Linked DNA regions of Homo sapiens: region 2 is linked to region 1. The links are contacts of gene promoters, found by promoter capture Hi-C in blood cells and fetal thymus (Javierre and others, 2016). All regions are on one chromosome and are shown on one strand. Each heading gives the region's core, a stretch centred on a gene start or on the middle of the fragment in contact. The rest is flanking DNA. Distances are from core to core; before and after follow the strand shown. Region 1 overlaps ARHGEF1 (Rho guanine nucleotide exchange factor 1). Region 2 holds the start of PRR19 (proline rich 19).

What was found. The method cuts DNA at HindIII sites, captures the fragments that hold promoters and counts their contacts. A CHiCAGO score of 5 or more calls a contact.
Region 2: the fragment with the promoter of PRR19 here is called in contact with a fragment that was not itself captured in region 1 in 1 of 17 cell types (total B cells); the score reaches 5.6 in total B cells.

What each region holds. Positions count from the first base shown.
Region 1 is chr19:41,897,175-41,900,841 of GRCh38, forward strand. ARHGEF1 (Rho guanine nucleotide exchange factor 1) reads left to right here. Exons shown (of 29, transcript NM_004706.4): 14 at 1,268-1,413. Among named protein-coding and RNA genes, the nearest start is that of ARHGEF1, 16 kb to the left of the region's middle. RefSeq lists an enhancer at 832-1,332. The HindIII fragment of the contact is 645 bases long and covers 1,684-2,328 here.
Region 2 is chr19:42,300,882-42,304,548 of GRCh38, forward strand. It overlaps PRR19 (proline rich 19), which reads left to right and starts at 1,251. Exons shown (of 3, transcript NM_199285.3): 1 at 1,251-1,622. It overlaps PAFAH1B3 (platelet activating factor acetylhydrolase 1b catalytic subunit 3), which reads right to left and starts at 1,743. Exons shown (of 5, transcript NM_002573.4): 1 at 1,351-1,743; 2 at 1,069-1,158. The coding sequence starts at 1,428. RefSeq lists enhancers at 1,218-1,267, 1,348-1,477, 1,430-2,084 and a silencer at 1,638-1,857. The HindIII fragment of the contact is 26,667 bases long and covers 1-3,667 here.

The sequences.
Region 1 (3,667 bases), core at 756-3,255:
TGTCCCCCTTACAGCTGGGGGGCAGGCTCTGCCTCCTGCCCGTCCTTGTGCCGCTGCTTTGGGGACCCTTTGGTGGGTGCGGGGAGGTGGGTCAGGTTCCATCTGGGCCCACCTCTGACCCTGTGCCCCTCTCTCCCCAGAAGGTGGAAGAGGTGGGTGCCTGGGCCCTGGGTGGGGGAAGGGCTAGCCCCTCCCCCATTTCTCCCAGCCCCTCCCCTCTCCCCATGGCCACTCCCTCCCCTTCACTCCCTGTGAGGGGTGGGTGGGGACATCACCCTCCCAGTTGAAGAGCTAAGTATGGAAATCCTCCCCACCCCATAACACCCCCTCTGTTGCCATCCCCCTGCCTCAGGGAAGGGAGGGGGTCAGTCCTATGCTCCATCCTGGGTTCCCCATCCCTTCCCCCATCAAATTTCAGTATCCCCCCTCCCCCAAGACCCCCCACTACCCCAGTGCCCCTAAAATCCCACCACTCCTCTGACTCTCTCCTCTCTTCTGTTGCATGTTTGATCCCTGTCCTGGTCACCCTTGCCCCGGTCCTGGTCTCTCCCTGTCTCTGTCCCTGTCCTGGTCTCTCCCCGTCTCTGTCCCTGTCCTCGTCTCTCCCCAATTTCTGTCCCTGCCCTGGCCTCTCCCCACCTCTGTCCCTGCCCTGGTCTCTCCCCGTCTCTGTCCCTGTCCTGGTTTCTCTTCGTCTCTGTTCTTGTCTTGGTCTCTCCTTGTCTCTGTCCCCGGCATCTGCCTGACTCTGTCCTTGGCCTCGGGGTCCAGGCTATCAGGGCGTCTGGGGCGCTCAGAGAGCCTGCGGGTGAGTGACCGCCGCCGGCCTTCCCGGGGCAGCCTCGGGGCTAAGGGCCGGGGTGGGGGCCGCTCCCGGAGCGACGTGGACATGGACCCCAGTTCCGCCACGGCAGTGCTTGGCCCTGCCCGACGAGCCACGTATGTCAACCCTCTCCCTTCCCCCATCCACTAAGGCAGCCTGGAGAATCAGGGAGGGATTGTTGTCAGAGTCACAGAGGAATGGGCGTTGGAGACCGAGGTCATTGAGGCCAACTGTGGTCACAGACCTTGGAGGAGGAGGGGGTAGAATGCTTCTAGAGATCTGGGAACTCTAGTGTGGTCCGATCTAGAGACCTGGTCTGCTGCACGGGCCACCCTGCGGGCATCGAATGCCAAGGCCACTGACCGGGGTTGAACGCTCTAAGAGGCTGAAGGCTGCTTCTTGGGATGGCCCAAGCTGGGGCCCTAACAAGGCCTCTGTCCACAGCCCCGAGCCTGGAGATGAGGGGGAGCCGGGGCGGTCGGGACTGGAGCTTGAACCAGAAGAGCCTCCCGGCTGGCGGGAACTCGTCCCCCCAGACACCCTGCACAGCCTGCCCAAGAGCCAGGTGAAGCGGCAGGAGGTCATCAGCGGTGAGTACTGCCCCCATCACCCCACTGTGGCCAAGGACACAGTCCAGCTCTGGCAAAGGCAAAGACAGGCGCAGAGAGATGTTCATCTTGGTGTCATTTACCATCGGGAGAACTTGAAGGCAGCTTCAAATTCCCTCTTGTTCCAAGTTCAGATTGTTTCAACACAGAGCATTTTGATGGAATGTGAATGCCACTGTGGAAGGGACATTTCCAAACATTTCTAGTAGTGCAATACAGTGCTGATGTTGAGAACACTGCATTTCTGGTGCAAGCTTTTATTTCCTTGCTTGTGAAATGTGGGCATTAATAGTTCCTACCTCAGATATTGTCATGAAGATGAGATGATTTGTGTGAAATGTTTAGCATAGTGCTGGGCACAGAGGAAGAGCATTTTATTTTATTTATTTTTTTAAATTTTTATTTGAGGCAGAGTCTCAGTTGGTCTCTCAGGCTGGAGTGCAGTGGCACAATCACGGCTCACTGCAGCCTTACCCTCCCAGGCTCAACTGATCCTCCCACCTCAGCCTCCCGAGTAGCTGAACAGGCATGTACCACCATGCCTGGCTAATTTTTGTATTCTTTGTAGAGATGGGGTTTCGCCATGTTGGCCAGGCTGGTCTCGAACCCTTGGGCTCAAGTGATCCTCCTACCTCAGCCTCCCAAAGTCTTGGGATTACAAGTGTGAGCCACCAGGCCCAGTCAAGGAAGAGCATTTTAATGAGATTGTTGTTACTAGTTTGATCTTAATTGCTTAGGGGAGAAAAGATCCCCACAGGGGAAAGTTTGGGAGAATGATCAGTATATTAGCAGTGCTTGCTTCTGCGTGGAGAGATGATGAGTGTATCATTTTTGTCTTTTTCCTTTTTTCCTTTGCTAATTGTGTGGTGGCTAGGGAGGCTGGTGGCAAAAAGAGAAAGCTTTTTTTTTTTTTTTTTTTTTAAGACAGAGTTTTGCTCTTGTTGCCCAGGCTGGAGTGCAATGGCACAATCTCGGCTCACCACAACCTACGCCTCCCAGGTTCAAGTGATTCTCCTGCCTCAGCCTCCTGAGTAGCTGGGATTACAGGCATGTGCCACCACGCCCGGCTAATTTTGTATTTTTAGTAGAGACGGGGTTTCTCCATGTTGGTCAGGCTGGTCTCGAACGCCCGCCTCAGCCTCCCAAAGTGCTGGGATTACAGGCGTGAGCCACTGTGCCTAGCCCAAGAGAAAGGTTTGGGACTTGACTGAAAGCTTATTTACAGATTACTTCATAGTGAAAAAGATACTTATTCAAAAATTTTAGGGGAGTAGTTGAGTACTTTTTGGGTCACAGATCCTTCTAAGGACATGATAAAAAAAAAAAAAAACATGAGCCATGTGCTACCCATTAGGACTTTCTGGAAGATGGAAATGTGCTTTATTTGTACTGCTCACCATGGGGACCATCGGCCACCTATGGCTGGTGAGCACTTGAAATGCACTAGGCCAGGCACAGTGGCTCATGCCTGTGATCCCAGCACTTTGGGAAGCCGAGGTGGGCAGATCACTTGAGGTCAGGAGTTCGAGACTAGCCTGGCCAACATGGTGAAACCCCATCTCTACTAAACATACAAAAATTAGCCAAGCATAGTGGCGCATGCCTGTAATCCCAGATACTCGAGAGAGTAAGCCAGGAGAATTGCTTGAACCCAGGAAGCAGGAGATGGAGGTTGCAATGAACCCAGATCACTCCACCACACTTCAATCTAGGTGACAGAGCAAGACTGTGTCTCAAAAAAAAAGCACTAAATACAACTGAGCACTGACTTAAAATTTCATTGCAATTAACGAAAATGTAAAGAGTTGTACACGGCTGGTGACTATCACGTTGGACAGGATAGCAATTTCTTTCCCCAGAAAGAATATGCATAATGTACAAAATCGTGCTTTTAGTCTCAGGGGACTTCTAGGGCCCCTGAAACTCACACATATGCCCTCCGGGGATGTGGGGGTCCCTGGATCTGAGGCTGTCAACCACTGTATAATGTGGCTTGATGGTTAGACACTAAACACAGCTGCAAGCTTGCTGGCAGGTGGGATGACTAGCTTGTCCCCATTTGCTCAGGATATTCACAGTTTTATCACTGAAAGCCCAGGCAGGCAAATGAGGACCATTGGTCACTCTGGCCAGCTGCCACAGCGAAAAGGGAAAGGCAGTGGGTTGAGGAATCCTCACTGGTTTTTTTTTTTTTTTTTTTTTTTTGAGACGATCTCGCTCTGTCGCCTAGGCTAGA
Region 2 (3,667 bases), core at 1-2,500, 400 kb after region 1:
TCGGCTCATTGCAATCTCTGCTTCCCAGGTTCTGGCGATTCTCCTGCCTCAGCCTGCCAAGTAGCTGGGACTATAGGCATGTGCCACCATGCCCAGCTAATTTTTGTATTTTTAGTAGAGACAGGATTTCGCCATGTTGGCCAGGGTGGTCTCGAACTCCTGGCCTCAGGTCATCCGCCTGCCTTGGCCTCCCAAAGTGCTGGGATTACAGGCGTAAGCCACCACACCCTGCCTAGAGTCTCTCACTTTAAACCAAGCCCCAGGCTCTGTTGCTCATGCTGAGGTGGGCGGACTGCTTGAGCCCAGGAGTTCAAGACCAACCTGCGCAACAGGGCAAAACCCCATCTCTACAAAAATTACAAAAATTAGCCAGGTGCATGGTGATGTGCACCTGTAGTCCCAGCTACTCGGAGACTAAGGTGGGAGGATCACTTGAGCCCAGGAGGCAGAGGTTGCAGTGAACAGAGATCATACCACTGCACGCCAGCCTGGGTGACAGAGCAAGACCCTGTCTCAAAAACCAACCAACCAACCAACCAACCAACAAAACAAACCAAGCCCCATAGAAGCAAGACTCACTTCATGAAAATCCAGTCTGCTTGAGCCATGCATTGAATCAATGGCATTACAGTTGAAACTTATTTTGATGAAACCCATTACAGTTGGACATGCTTTGTGGAAAGATATTATTATGATTGAGTCCTCTTTGTGGAGTGCCATTAGAGTTGCCCTTCGCTTCCTGTAAAGTGACTATAGCTTTGTGTAAACCCAACAGGGCTGCGCACTACTTAAAGCAAACAAGAAAGAGCCTCACTTTAGGCAAGCCTATGGCAGGAAAGCCTCATTTTAGGTCTTAGTACATTATACACAAATCCAATCTGATAAAACCAAGGCATACATTTCTTTCTCAATAGAATGTTGCACCTTACACCAAGATTCTCAGAGCCTCGGGCTGCCTGAGGCCAATCTGGGTACTCTCATAATACCTCACCTGGCCTGGGTTCTGGTCCAGATGTGTCAGCATGGACACAGGGCTGGATGGGGCAGGGGGAGAGGGACTGCCCTCACCTCGCACTGGTGCATGAGCTGGACCAAGGAGTCCCCGATGAAGACGACTTCGGGTTCCTTATCTTTGCTGTCAGCCACGAACCGATGGTGCTGCGGGAGCGCGCGAGAGGGAGTCAATGGCATGCACGCTCCAGGGCCCGCCCCGCCCTGCTCCCTTAGGCAGCGCCTCCTCAACTGCCCTCAGTTTCCCAATCAGGTAGTGAGAGTGGCACGAACCAGCCGTTCTCCTGAGCCACCCCCCGCGCCCCCGGACTCCTCAATATCCCAGGTGGGAACGCTCACCAGGGACATCCAGCGCCCGTCGCCCTGTACGTCCTGCACCGGCGTGGGCTTGCTGGCTGGGTTCTCCTCTCCACTCATCTTGGCGCCGCAGCTCCTGCAGGATGAGCGAGTCGGGTCGGCCCGGGAGTGTTCCGAACGGAGCTGGCTCCGCCACGCCCACTCCTACCCCTCGCGGCAACAAAGGACCGTCCCAACGCTAGCACACCCGCGGAGGACGAAGGCCGATACAGGGCGCCGCCTCCTCTCCAGGGACGGAAGCCTTCACTTAGGAGGTAGGTGGAATCAGGAACCTTCGCTTCCCCCACGACGGCCGCACAGTGGGCTCGCCCGGCGCTTCCCGCTCGGGCCGCTGACTCCCAGGCCGCGCACCCGGCACGGGGTGGGGGGAGGGAGAGGCGAGACCATCCAGCTCCCGAGGCGGGGAGGAGGGAGAAACCACCCACCGGTCACGGGGAGGGGCGAACTACCTGAAGAGTCGAGAGTGGGCGGGGAAAATCTAGCCCTCTGTCTAGCAAATGGGAAGAAACCATTTGCTGTACAGAGTGAAATGTGCGGAAGGGACCACCTACTGTTGCGGGGGGGGGGGTGACCCATTCACGTGGTGGGGGGAGGGGAGCGAGTGGACGAGTCCATTCTTATATTCCCTTGAAGGGGTGGCTCGAATGCACCTGGCTGGGGGGGACGCTCCTATTTTCTACTGATGTGGGGGACAGAAAAGGAAGATGACAAAATGTGAAAATTCGAGGCTCCCTTCTAAGGAGCCACTCTAAGGCCGCGCCAGGGCTTTAGTGAGCCTATCTACTCGTGGGCTTCCCCTACTCAAAACACCGTGGGTGTGTGTGTGTGTGTGTGTGTGTGTGTGTGTGTGTGTGTGTTGAAATCTAAAGTACATATCTTTGCATTCAAGACATCACAGGACCCCTACTCAAAACACCGTGTGTGTGTGCGCGCGCGTGGCATAACATATAAACTACATATCTTTGCATTCAAGACACCATAGGACCTGCTTGGAGGGTAGAAGAAGGTGCAGAAAGAGAAAGGAAATTAGAGACGCCTCCAGGGCTCAGGTCCAGTCTGGCGTCCCTCCGGCAGATCATCTTGCAGATCTGCAGCCTCTACACTCTCTCTAAACCCACAGGCCAACTGGGTATGTCTGAGCTCTGAAACCTACATCCATAGCCAAGGCCACCTAGGGTCGCGCCTCTCCCCCAACGCTGCCCCAAATTAATCTCAGACCTCAGTGTCTTCTCAGATCTCCCTCTTCTCTGGGACCAGGTGGGGGGCTCACTCCCTGCTAAACGTCCTGGTCATGTTCTTGTAGCCTCACTCCAGGTGGGACCTTCCCATGTATTCATTCCTTCGAGGTGGATTGATACTGAGACAGAGATGAGTGTTATTCATTGTGTTTATGTTTTCAATCCACTTTCCTGGAACTGGGCCGGGCACACAGTGGTTATTCCACAAGTGCTTGCTGAATGAGTAGTAAATGAGTGGGTCAGCTCCTGACCTTGTCCCAATGTGTTTAGGGAGACAGATCCAGACACAGAGGTGTAGGGGTGTCAAAGTTGTGTTTGAGGGAGAGACAGGGACCTCTGGGGAGGAAGAGGAGAAGGACTCTGAGGACTATGGGTTTCCTAGGAGTAGTATCTCAGCTGGGTCTGAAAGATAATGAAGAATGGGCAAGCAGAAAGAAAAGACACAGGTAATCACTTTCTTATTAGGTTTGGGGAATATCGTGGAATAGCTTGATTTTAAAGTCTGAGGGAGGCCAGCATGGAGGCTCATGCCTGTAATCCCAGCACTTTGGGAGGCTGACATGGTCGGATCACTTGAGGTCAACCAGCCTGGCCAACATGGCGAAACCACGTGTCTACTAAATATACAAAAAAAAAAAAAAAATTAGCTAGGCATGGCAGCACACGCCCGTAGTCCCAGCTACTTGGGAAGGCTGAGGCAGGACAATTGCTTGAGTCTGGGAGGCAGAGGTTGCAGTGAGCTGAGATCGCGCCACTGCAGCCCAGCCTGGGCAACAGTGGCCCAGCTTGGGTGACACAGCGAGACTCTGTCTTAATTACAAAAATAAACAAACAAATAAAGTCTGAGGGAGCCAGGTGCAGTGATGCATGCCTGTAGTCCCAGCTACTGGGGAGGCTGAGGTGCGAGGATCGCTTGAACCCAGAAGTTTGAGACCAGCCTGGGTAACACAGTGAGACCCTGTCTAAAAAAAAAAAAAAAAAAAGGCTGGGCGCGGTGGCTCACGCCTGTAATCCCAGCACTTTGGGAGGCCGAGGTGGGCAGATCACGAGGTCAGGATCGA